Linked DNA regions of Homo sapiens: region 2 is linked to region 1. The links are contacts of gene promoters, found by promoter capture Hi-C in blood cells and fetal thymus (Javierre and others, 2016). All regions are on one chromosome and are shown on one strand. Each heading gives the region's core, a stretch centred on a gene start or on the middle of the fragment in contact. The rest is flanking DNA. Distances are from core to core; before and after follow the strand shown. Region 1 holds the start of XIRP2 (xin actin binding repeat containing 2). Region 2 has its middle 190 kb from the start of XIRP2.

What was found. The method cuts DNA at HindIII sites, captures the fragments that hold promoters and counts their contacts. A CHiCAGO score of 5 or more calls a contact.
Region 2: a fragment that was not itself captured here is called in contact with the fragment with the promoter of XIRP2 in region 1 in 2 of 17 cell types (non-activated CD4 T cells and naive CD4 T cells); the score reaches 5.4 in non-activated CD4 T cells.

Annotation. Positions count from the first base shown.
Region 1 is chr2:166,885,044-166,891,730 of GRCh38, reverse strand. It overlaps XIRP2 (xin actin binding repeat containing 2), which reads right to left and starts at 3,251. Exons shown (of 11, transcript NM_152381.6): 1 at 3,174-3,251. The HindIII fragment of the contact is 3,763 bases long and covers 528-4,290 here.
Region 2 is chr2:166,698,028-166,704,714 of GRCh38, reverse strand. No RefSeq gene overlaps it. Among named protein-coding and RNA genes, the nearest start is that of XIRP2, 190 kb to the left of the region's middle. The HindIII fragment of the contact is 2,800 bases long and covers 2,400-5,199 here.

The DNA of each region.
Region 1 (6,687 bases), core at 2,002-4,501:
TTGTTGTGATTAAGAAAGATTATCAGACAACAATTTTTTTTTCAGAGAAAAAAAATCAAAAGACAACAACTGAAAGTGTTTTTCCAAATAAAGCAAGTAATTGATCTTTTCTGGGAGGGAAATTTTAATTAGTTTTGGCAGATAGTTGCTCAATATCTATCTGATAAGAATGTGAAAGAAATTAGTTAAGAGATTCAAAGAAATGGCATTTTCAATATTAAGGAAAAAACTTAACTAAAGCTTTATTATTATATATTGTCAATTACATTAACTTCTCCAGCTATGCTAGGTTTATCAGAACAATTAATTTTTCTGCCAAAAATGTAGCTAACATAGTACATTACTTAATTTCCCACTAATAGGATGCATGCATAATTCATATATGTAAAAAAGAGATAGGAACAATGCATTTGTTTATTTTTCTTTCTTTTATCTCCACATTCACATTTATTAAGTGAACCAGCTAAGGCACCTTGCTAAGACAAGTTATTAGAAGAATTTATGAAGTTGTATATTTGCAATAAGCTTATCTTACCGCCATGTCTTTTTCTGTCAAATTTCTGTCCTGTGACTCAGCTACCACAGTCACGTATCCATTAAAGGAAAACACAAATTTAACAGTTCTTTAACTTACTGATCTCATCTAACTAATGAACATCAAGCATGATGGACATACGTCGCCAGATAGCAGCTACAAGACACCAAATCTCTCATAGCCAGCTCTGGGAGCTGCATTATTTAGTAAGTCATGGAAGAGAGAAGTGCACCCTCAACCATAACCCCTGTTTGTGCTAGGTACTCAGCTTACAAGTTTACTCGTTAAAGGCTGATTGAAGCAGCTTTTGTTTCCAAATTCTATAGAAAAATAAACTCATCCTTAGTAAAAGGACCCATCTCAGAGTCCCAGAAAACTGTCTGGAGGATATGGGTAATTAGTATTTAACAAAAGAAGAAATTTGTTAAATATTTCATGGATTATCCCAAGCAGGCTGCGTACCAGACAATACCTGTTATTTAGGACAAAGCTGATGATCTGTCATATCAGCTTCTGCTACACCCACATACAGAATACATCTGTAATAAAAGAAGCATGCAAAATTTGCTCTCATGAAATTTCAAATATGAATCTCAGTGTGAATAATAAAAATAAAAACAAACTTTTAGAGTTTACTATTGAGAGCTGTCAAAGAATTATAAAACATAAATCCAGACTTCAGGGATTTACAGTCTGTTCAGATGCTCTGGTTCTCACCTTTTCTGTGCACCAACATCATCTGAGATGTCCTTAGCACTGCAGATTCTTAAGGGCCCACTCGGGGAGTTTCAGCTAGTTTCAAGGTCTGGAATTTGAACTGGGAACTGGCCTTCTTAGAAAGCACCAAGAGGTGATTCTGATGCCCGAAGCCTATGAACCCACAGTTAAAAAATAAAACTTAGGGGCCAGGCACGGTGGCTCATGCCTGTAATCCCAGCAGTTTGGGAGGCTGAGGTGGGAGGATCATGAGGTCAGAAGATTGAGACCATCCTGGCTAACACGGTGAAACCCCATCTCTACTAAAAAACAAAAAAATAGCCAGCATGGTGGCACGTGCCTGTAATACCAGCTACTCAGGAGGCTGAGGCAGGAGAATCGCTTGAACCTGGGAGGTGGACGTTGCAGTGAGCCGAGATCACACCACTATGCTCCAGTCTGGGTGACAGAGCAAGACTCTGTCTCAAATAAAATAAAATAAAATAAAACTAAAAAGTAAATAAAACTTAGCTACATCAACAGAAATATTAATGAACTGGAGAAGACACAACACCATTCATTAATTCAATACCTGCTTGAGGATTGCTTGCTATGGAGAAGAATAACAAGGAGAAGAAGGTGGAGATGGGGCTTACCCCAAAAAGGGGAAGAAATCTAGACTTATGAGAGAATGAAAATGAAGAAAATGACTACCAGCAAAAGCACAAAGGCATGGAAGGACTCATCAACATCAAGAACCCCAAGCAGGTAGGATAGACAACCAGAAAGGTCAAACAAGTGGATCTGGACAGGCTAAAGGAGCTTTTAAGGAGAAAATGCACTAGCAGGAGAGACAGAGCAAGCCAAGGTGGGCCTTGCCTGGCTGGTGATCATCTGGAAACAGTGGGAGAAGGCTGCAAGGAAGAAGGAAGTGGAGAGGAAAGCAAAATATGGTGCCACATTGTTGGGAAAATGAACATGGTTGCTCCCCTTGAATAAATAAACGCCACCTGCAGGAGGAGAGGCCAGGGACCTGGGCCAGAACCTCTGCTGTGTCTCACCTACCCTGTGCCCTGGCTCCACTGCAGCAGCCCTTCAAGGCCAGAAGCCCCATGGCCTGGGACATCCTCTTCATCTTGGCACAGAAATTGTTTAGGGAGGTGTCTGGGGGCGAGTGGGGAGAGAGTGGAGGAGGGACAGCTGTCATCTCTGAGATAGAAAGGTGCAGGAAAGCATTTCATATGTAACAATTTGAATGTTTTTTGCTGTTTTTAGAATTCAGAACCCTTGTTGGAGTGCCTAAGAAGTGGGGTAAGAAGAGCTTCCATTTGTCTGCTAGATCACATGTTAGTGGGTGGTTGTGCCAGGAGGCAGCTGCTGAGGGGTTTGCAACAACCACCCTGGTCTGTGTGCCTGAATGCTTATTCAGAATGGGGCTGTCAGCTGCAGGCTCATGCCCTTGGGTCCCTGAGGGTCATGGCTTTGTCCCTGGCGAGTCCTCTCTGACCTGACTCAATGGAACGAAGGAAGAAAGGAGAATTGCCCAGATGCTTTCTTTGGGTGATGCTGTTTTTGTTAAATTTCTTCCCCAGAAGTCCCTGACTATCTTTCAGTGTCCAAAAATATAATATATAGCCAAACTTACGTGTTTTGAGTCTGAGAGATTAACTATTTTTTCTCTGGGCACATTGCTGCCCCAGATTAAATTGTTTCTTAGTTAGAAAAACAAATGAATAACTAGAGATTCTAGCAGCAGTGTCTGTCACTAAGCGCTAGCCTGAATTTGTTGATGATGCTGTGATTCTATGCTAATTTAATGTATATTACTTAAAAGAAATAGGGAGAGAGAGGCAAAATAGTGTCCTGTCAGAAACTATCAAAGAGAAGCATGTATGTGTAGAAAAAATTATGAAAGAAGTGGTTTTTCTTAGGAAAATCTTACCTTTTTTCTACATGTCCCAGTCCCTACCAGATGTTCCCTTTTGTCTGCCTAGAGACCTGCCAGATTTCTCCAAATAATCCTGACTTCCTGGATACACCCACATAGAAACAGGTCGGGTTCTAGAAGAATTTGTCTGCTCCATGTTCCATCAGAATCAGATTATCTCATTATTTTGGAACAAGTTAATCTGCTGCAGATGAATTAATGAATGCTGCTGAGTTAGCTATTATCATTTTTTTCCTACATATTCTTAAAGGTATGTTTTAACCCAAAGACCCATAGTGACCAATGGCTCACTCTATGGCTGAGCTACACTTTAATTATCACTGTGCGTCAGGTTCCATACATATAAAAATAAACCTAATATTTAATTCAAAGTCATTTGTGAGGGGTTGGGACACCTGAGAATTTTGGATAATGATCATGAACATAGAGTCCAGATTCAAACCAAATGGCTTCAAATTCCTACTCAAACACTAGTATATGACATTAGATGCATTATTTAATATATCCAAACATTAGTTTCCTCACTTGAAAATTGGGATGATAATAGTATGTTCTAACTATACTGTTGTGAGATGAACAAAATAAATGAAATCACGCTCATAAAGAACTTAGGATAGTGCTTGGTATGAAGCAAGTGATCAGCGGATGTCAGCTTTTATTAGCAGTATTTAAGTATAGTTATTTGCAACCAAAAAGTGCTTAGCGATATCAGTTATCATCTTCTACAAATTATAGGAGACCACAGCTTCTGAGATAATTTTATTTTATTTTACATATAGTAAGCTATATACTATTTCAAATAAGTAAAGTCTTTCTCTTCGCAGACTCTAATTGCAGAGTCTAATTTGATTCTTATTTGGTCATCTAATAGCTCTTTGTTCCAAACTGGGGTTTTTATATATAAGGGGTTCAGTGATATACTACTAAAGACAATGTTGATTTTTTTGCATAAAGGAATTCAATAGCAGAAATGCATTTTAATATAATAAATTAAATCTTACAACTTTAATCAATGAATTTTCATATATAAAAATGACCATAAATTATATAAATAACTGCAGTGCTTAGCCAGTATTCAAACTGTAGGTTTCAGAAATCTTGTTTGAAAGCTTAAAATATAGGGCAGTTATGATATGGTATTTGGAGACGATACAGGGTGTGATATAAAGGTTCGACTACAAGGCTAATGTTATAAACTGGTCACATTTTGAACTGCAAATTCTGGTGACTTAATTATTTTTCCAAGAGTTTGCCAAAGTCAATAAAGAACAATTAGCTCAACATCTATGAACTTAAAAAGGACTTAGACATTCTGCTATATTAAAAAGACTAAATGCAGTACTTATCTTGGTGTGTTTCTTGTTTCTACTCTGGGAAGATTAAAAAACAGATAACTTTAGAAATTACAGACCTGTCAGCATCAGTATTTAGTTGAAAACTTACTGAAACATATCATCAAAAAATCAATTTTCAAGCACCTAGAAAATCATGAGTTACTGGGTAAAATCTCCTTGGCACTGTGAAAAATAAATCCTGTCAAATCAACTTAATTTCCTTCCACGACAGAGTGACAAAAACAGTAGACACAGAGAACTGGATAGACAAAATATATCCTGACCAAAGTCAGGCAAATTCCACATAACACAGAGAGAAAATACAGTTTGGGTGACATTTTGTCTTTATTAAGTACTCCTATTGAATAACTATGCTGAACATATCTGGAAGTGATACTCAGCTGGAATATTGAACATGTAAGGTGACTGGTTAGATATAAAGATGAGAGCATTCAAGACCAAGTTGTGGCAGGGCTGATTCTCACTATTTTAAACAAAATATTATCGGTAATTATGAGAAACCAAGTAAGAATCAGCATCATTTTGCTACTTCTGTTTTTTTAAAAAAGCAAGATCCCCAACAGAAAAGGATGTGTAGAACTGTAATGCCCACATAATGTTGCGATGGGACTACTGTTGGCACATTTGGGGTTTGGAGGCCCAGGAGAGTGAAGATGAATGGCATGAAATGAGGCATGCCTTTGAGTCAATGCTTCTGACCAGTGAGGGATCCATTTTTACTTCTGAGTCCAAATGTTTTTCCCACAAGAAAAGGTTAATGTATCCCTCTCATCTCCAAAGACTCATTTAACAAAATGACTCGTTTAACAAAATGAAAACAGCATGGACAAATAAGAGAGTGACATTTTTAAGAAACATTGGTATAGTTCCTAAGCAGAAAACCAGAAATCTGTGTGTGCATTAAAATAATAAACCACTTAGTAAAAATAATAATTGATTTTAAAGTGAATTTTGAGGAATCCCTTTAGCAGATATTCAAAGTATTTGGAAATAATGATAAATAACCTGATTTCAGTACATTATCATCCCATCCTAGAAGCTTGTAACAGTGGGAGACAGATGAAGATAGTGAGATTTCAAAGAAAGGGTAGTAGACACTATATCAACAATAAAGTATTTCCTTAGACAAGAGCTTGAAAATAATTTTCATCTCATGTGCCAACTCTAATTTTTAGTTGCCACCTGAGTAGGCTTGAGAAGTTGCACTAGGCCCACTCTAAAGAATAAAGAAGTGCACCAACCATTCAATTTGATGGGGGTGAGATATTTTGCCCATTCCCATGAAGACACAGACAGCAAGTTTATACTGGAGCCTAACTATAGTATTTATATTTGACTACATAATAAATCCATAGCAAGTAGTTGTTCTTGAATATTTGTTTATTCATTCTCAGCTAGGCTTTGGTATCTTTATTAGGACTTAAATTAAAAACTTTCTCCAGGTGTTGTTATACATATCTGATCTGGGTAAACCTACCTGGTTGCTGAAGTTCAGATTCTAATGCACTGAATGTCAACCAGGACCTTTTAGGGAATTGCGTCTTAACAACACTTATTTCTGTTGGGCTGTGCTAAATCATCTAGTCTCAACAATTATTAGATGCTTAGACTTCTCCTACAATACACATGTGGATGGGCCCTCCAGACTGGGTTGGCACATTATTGTAAGAGACTCACTTGTATTTATTAATTCATCAACTTGACACACATGAGATCCAAAATCAACTGGGAAAAAAGTCACTAGTTATTGAATTAAATCCCATGCAGTCTTTTATTCCCCAGGACCTTATATTTTGGTGTGACATTCCAGTGAATTAATTTCTGACTATAATTCATTGTTGAAAGGCTTGGCAGAGGAGTTGTGGAAGTCCAAAGCAAGGGTTTTGAATAAGCTCTCATTTGAAAAATTATATTTCTTGCATTAAACCCAAAATATCTCTGTAATTTTCCCTTTGAGCCTGTTCTAAGCCTTGAGGCCATATAAAACAAGTCTAATCCTTCTTCCACATGAACAAACAATCTTTAAATATTTGAATAAAATTCTAATGGGTCTCTTAAATTTTCTTTTTCTATTCAAGCAAACCATCCACAAATGTACCCTAATATAAATGCTTTTAATTCTTCTAGTCATCATAGTTCTAACCTGTTCACCA
Region 2 (6,687 bases), core at 2,550-5,049, 190 kb after region 1:
GGGTATTCAATTAGGAAAAGAGGAAGTCAAATTGTCCCTGTTTGCAGATGACATGATTGTATATCTAGAAAACCCCATTGTCTCAGCCCAAAATCTCCTTAAGCTGATAAGCAACTTCAGCAAAGTCTCAGGATACAAAATCAATGTACAAAAATCACAAGCATTCTTATACACCAATAACAGACAAACAGAGAGCCAAATCATGAGTGAACTTCCATTCACTATTGCTTCAAAGAGAATAAAATACCTAGGAATCCAACTTACAAGGGATGTGAAGGACCTCTTCAAGGAGAACTACAAACCACTGCTCAATGAAATAAAAGAGGATACAAACAAATGGAAGAACATTCCATGCTCATGGGTAGGAAGAATCAATATCGTGAAAATGGCCATACTGCCCAAGGTAATTTTGAGATTCAATGCCATCCCCATCAAGCTACCAATGACTTTCTTCACAGAATTGGAAAAAACTACTTTAAAGTTCATAGGGAACCAAAAAAGAGCCCGCATTGCCAAGTCAATCCTAAGCCAAAAGAACAAAGCTGGAGGCATCACACTACCTGACTTCAAACTTTACTACAAGGCTACAGTAACCAAAACAGCATGGTACTGGTACCAAAACAGAGATATAGATCAATGGAACAGAACAGAGCCCTCAGAAATAACGCCGCATATCTGCAACTATCTGATCTTTGACAAACCTGAGAAAAACAAGCAATGGGGAAAGGATTCCCTATTTAATAAATGGTGCTGGGAAAACTGGCTAGCCATATGTAGAAAGCTGAAACTGGATCCCTTCCTTACACCTTATACAAAAATCAATTCAAGATGGATTAAAGACTTCAATTTTAGACCTAAAACCATAAAAACCCTAGAAGAAAACCTAGGCATTACCATTCAGGACATAGGCATGGGCAAGGACTTCATGTCCAAAACACCAAAAGCAATGGCAACAAAAGCCAAAATTGACAAATGGGATCTAATTAAACTAAAGAGCTTCTGCACGGCAAAAGAAACTACCATCAGAGTGAACAGGCAACCTACAAAATGGGAGAAAATTTTCACAACCTACTCATCTGACAAAGGGCTAATATCCAGAATCTACAATGAACTCCAACAAATTTACAAGAAAAAAACAAAGAACCCCATCAAAAAGTGGGTGAAGGAAATGAACAGACACTTCTCAAAAGAAGACATTTATGCAGCCAAAAAACACATGAAAAAATGCTCATCATCACTGGCCATCAGAGAAATGCAAATCAAAACCACAATGAGATACCATCTCACACCAGTTAGAATGGCAATCATTAAAAAGTCAGGAAACAACAGGTGCTGGAGAGGATGTGGAGAAATAGGAACACTTTTACACTGTTGGTGGGACTGGAAACTAGTTCAACCATTGTGGAAGTCAGTGTGGCCATTCCTCAGGGATCTAGAACTAGAAATACCATTTGACCCAGCCATCCCATTACTGGGTATATACCCAAAGGACTATAAATCATGCTGCTATAAAGACACATGCACACGTATGTTTATTGCGGCACTATTCACAATAGCAAAGACTTGGAACCAACCCAAATGTCCAACAATGATAGATTGGATTAAGAAAATGTGGCACATATACACCATGGAATACTATGCAGCCATAAAAAATGATGAGTTCATGTCCTTTGTAGGGACATGGATGAAATTGGAAATCATCTTTCTCAGTAAACTATCACAAGAACAAAAAACCAAACACTGCATATTCTCACTCATAGGTGGGAAATGAACAATGAGAACACATGGATACAGGAAGGAGAACATCCCACTCTGGGGACTGTTGTGGGGTAGGGGGAGGGGGGTCGGATAGCATTGGGAGATATACCTAATGCTAGATGATGAGTTAGTGGGTGCAGCGCACCAGCATGGCACATGTATACATATGTAACTAACTTGCACATTGTGCACATGTACCCTAAAACTTAAAGTATAATAATAAAAAAAAAAAGAAAGAAAAATCAATGACCCCTCTCCCACTTTGCTCAAGGACCATGCTACAATATCACTATGAAGTGACAGAATTTTGGCTCTAGTTCTGTCCTGCCAGCTCAGCTATGGGGGGATCAGGGGTTGGGTCCTAATTTTGTGGTTGCAGTTTTATATTGTGGCAGGTAGAGGAGAAATTAAGCACATTACCAATCATATGTGGTGAAGTAACAGCCCTTGACCTTGGTTAATTGCCCTAAGCACCAGCCGTAGCCAGTTTCATGGAATTTTGCAAGGAGGCCAGCTCCTTTTCTGGGAGGCCAGCCTGTAGATGATCAGTTAGATAAGTTAACCCTTTCCTATTAGCAGATAATCACATTGTATAGGGTACTAAGGGTTTTATAAGGCATTATGTCTGTCCTGGAAAAGCTTCCAGATTCACAGGGTAAAAACTGGCAGCACTGATATAGTTTTAGCATTGATGATGAATACTTACTGCAAAGATGCGTTGCTTGGAATCATTCAGTTTCAAATTTGATAGTTACTTACTTCGTGTTATTTCAGCATGGTTGTAGTTCATGGAGAACCTAGTCTGCTTTTGTTATTCTCTGGGTGTTCTCTAACATCTCATCCTAAATAGGAAAGATTTTTTAAATTAGCAGAAATAATTTTTTATCTTAGTGGATATTTAATAAAACCACTACTATAGTAATTATTGAAGGTTTGTGAAGTGGTTCCCATAACTCTGTGCTCAACAAGACACAAAAAGTTCAAAGAGTATATATTCAAACACTGTTCCTAACTCTTAACACTTTTGGCCCTAGACTAATCACTTAATCTGAAAACATTCTGATTGCCTTATTTACAAAATGAGAAAAGTAGAAGAGCCTACTCATCAGAATGCCAGAATGTGTATAAAGTGATGAGTATTTGTATTTAACCAGCTTAAGATATGTAAATTACAACAGGCGACAAGGTAGAATACTATCTTATGTGTTTCTATGCCTGAGGAATTTTCTTTCCTCTTCTAGGCATCAAGCAGAATCATTTAATGTCTAAATCACACTTCCTTTCTGACAGGAGTCACTTCAAGTTAGCATTTAAATTGTATTTTTGTCAGTGGAAACCTCCTCTCCACAAGGCTTCTGAAGGGCAGGTGACTTGTCTAATGCCTGTATACCTGAAATCCCTAATGCATTACTAGGACCATAGTACATACTTACTAGGTATTGCTGAGTTGAGTAACATCACAAATAGACAGCTAGGAGGACAGCACAATATCAACATACTTTCTCACAATTCTTGCACAGTTACATCATCAGGTACAAAAACCTCCGTCTTCAGCCTTTTGTTGCTTGAGCCAAAAGATCTTTCCTTTATTTTTGATGGGTGGCTGATATCAGTGGGATCATAATTACAGCCCTCTGTGCCAAACATCAGGTTAATAGAAACTATTGTTGAAGAGAAAAACATCCTGTAGTTCTTTGTCTCCAAAATTCCCCAGCAGACATGAGGACTTCCCACGAGCTGAAGAGCTTAAAAGAAAGTCTCCATTCGCAAAATAATTATAACCATACTTTTTGTTACCCTCAGTGGTTTGATGAGTGGATTAAAAGAAGAGAATACACCTAGGTATATTTTCACTTTCTTCTCAGCTCTAAAAACTAGATGTCCCTGTTGATACCAATAACAGGAGAAAATAGTTTCATTCCCTATGGCCATTAGCTTTTTCAATACTTATTTTAAATAGTAAATAAAATTCCTTCAGATAATGAACATATTATCTCAGTTAGAGAGGGAGAAATAGCTAGTAAATTGCTTATAACACAAAATAATCAATGTGTTAATGAACTTCTTTTTCCATTAAAACAATACTACAAAGTTTGCTGATTATACTTAACTGATTGATTCTTTTGTTCTTAAGGAGCAAAGTCATACATCTTCACCTGAAGAATTCTAGAATGTGTTGGGATTGTCCCAATTTAACTTTTCTAGAAAGGCAGAATGATGGATATTACATTGGTTAATGTCTGCGAGAGGCAGAAAGATGAAGGCATAGGACATTGAGTAAGAGCAGAGAAGCCCTTAAAAAAAAGGCAAGGCTTATATTGCTCTATTCACAACTCTCATGTCTGTCTTTCTCTCCTACCTTTCTTAATCTAGTCAATTTAAATCATAGATTATTTACTCAATAGGCCATACATTCATTGAAAAACAACTTGAGTGACCTTTTCATTTATAAATTCAAAGAACATAAAATAAGGTAGTGGCGGCTGCTCAGTTTGTATTGACAGAGTTATCTAGTCTTTTGAGATTCCAAGACTATTTCTATTTAATCATAAACATCCTGTAAAAAGAACTGTCATCTGCTACATACATCCCACTTAAGCGAAATCAGATTGTATGCCATTTTCCAACTTTGCTCTTGACATAAAAGAAAATAGGTTTAAGGGTTAGCATTAATGTCTATGTTCTGCTGTCCTCTGCTGGTGTCATAGGAAAATATTTAATAGTGAACTCACTAGTTGGGTCTTTAATTCCAGCTATAAGGATAAAATAAGTTTATACAGAGTCTGATATTAAAAGTAAACAGTAAAAACCTAAATTTTTTAAAAAGGAAATATAAAACAAAACATTTTATTCTTCCTTTAGTGCAAGCTCACACTTGTACAAAAGTCTATATCTGATTTAGTAATTCTGTATTTGTATTTAATAACTAAATTTATTTTGCTGAAATATTGCTCAAGTTTGCAATAGTTTGCAAGTGTGCATTGCAGTTCTGCTGCCTTTTGTATACTGATTAGTATTAAGGTGGCAATGAACATGTCTCTTACATATTAGAGCAAATATTTAAAAATTACCTCCCACTTTCTCTCCTCCAGCACATTTCTCCCTCTGTCCTAATATTATTAAATTCTGGAAACATGTTATAAAATAGGGCAGATATTATATACTTCTAACATTTCCAAAATGTACTCATGTGTTTATTTTTAGGCACAACTTGCAGGAAAATTGTTAGAAATAAGTTGTTTATAATCTTTGCGGCATCATATAAGGTTTTGTCACATAGCCAACAGTTTTTTGATATCCCACATATATACAGGGTAAAATACTTCCAGCTTTATGGTTTTGTTGTAGTACAGAATGTTTTTCCTAGAGAATCATAATTATAAAATATCATTAGATGAACTTCCCTATACTCAGTGCTACTGAAATGATTAGAATAAAGCTTTTATTACAACTCATTTTTACATGAAGAATGGAATATTCAGTTATAGAAAGTCATAGTATCTCTAAAAGAAGTGATTTTTAGTGACCTTAATATTCTAAATGGTATAATACAAAAAAGAAGCAAAGTCATAAGACCCCCAACAGAGTTATCAAGATGGGAAAATTTATTTCTCTCATGTTTAGCTTATAAAAGCAATTTCTTTGAAAAGCCCAGTGGGTTGGAACTGATATTACAGGCACGAAGCAGCTGTTTGTGTGCTGTCTGTGTAACCTTAAAAGTGTGATTGTAACAGGAACAACGTTCAAGATTGCTGTCCCAAGGTTCAAGATTGCTTTCCCTAGGAGAGGATAATAATGAAAGAAAACATTATTAAATCACCCCATTGATATAATTACCGTTTATTGAGCAGTTCCTATATATCAAATAGAGGACTCAATGCTTTACATTTGTGATTTTACTTATTCCTCATGACTACACTAATAGGTCGTGATTATCACTTCCATTTTACAGACAAGAAATACATGCTCAGAAAATGTAGGCTCTTTGCCTTAAATCATACCAAAAATGTAAAAACAGAACAGAGTTTCCAAACCAAAGTGAGTTCAAGGTTCATATTTTTTCAATTAAATGGCAATCCTATATAATTAATTTTATTTTCACCAATACAAAATATCCAATATGGAAAATAAGTTGAATTATTAATACTTAAAGACTTTTGTTCTTTTGTCTATGGTGTGTGTGTGTGTGTGTGTGTGTGTGTGTGTGTGTGTGTAAAATCATAAAGTGAACATATATAAGGTCAGGTTTGGTAATTAATATTAATTATATTATTCTTTTGCACTTTACCAAATAACTCTAATAAATACGAAAGGCCTTTTGTTGCTTTGGGAACAAAGGTCTCTCTAAGCTATAATCCAGAGCCATCTACAGTTCAACTGAGCCACTCAATTTAGAGAATCTTTGATCCTTAAAGCTCACATTTTGGGGGTCTTTCGTTTATGTAAAAATAAACTAGTCTTGAAGAGACTGCAAAACCCTGAAATATAGATCTTCTTTGTAAAAAGAACACTAGGATTTGTTGAAAATCTACTCTATTGTGAAAGAAAAATTCAAAACAAAATTAAACACATCATCTACACACATTCAAATTAAGTTCTTGTGTACTTTTTTGGATGAGCTAGCATATAAAAACACCGTGTGTCCATCGTGGATCATAATATCCAGGGAGGGAGAGGGGGGTGATATTATTCCCCGTATCCCCTGCGGTATTGGGAGTAATATATCCTCTCGTCCCCTGAATATGAGGAACAATATCACGGGGTGGGGAGGGGTGTACACCACCTGCAATATTGGGAGTAATATCATTGTCTCACCCCCTGGATATTAAAAACAGTATCACAAGGAGGGTGTTTATCACCTCTGATATTGGGAGTAATATCATCCTCTCCCAACCCGGATATCACAGAGGGAGTGTACACCCGCTTCGA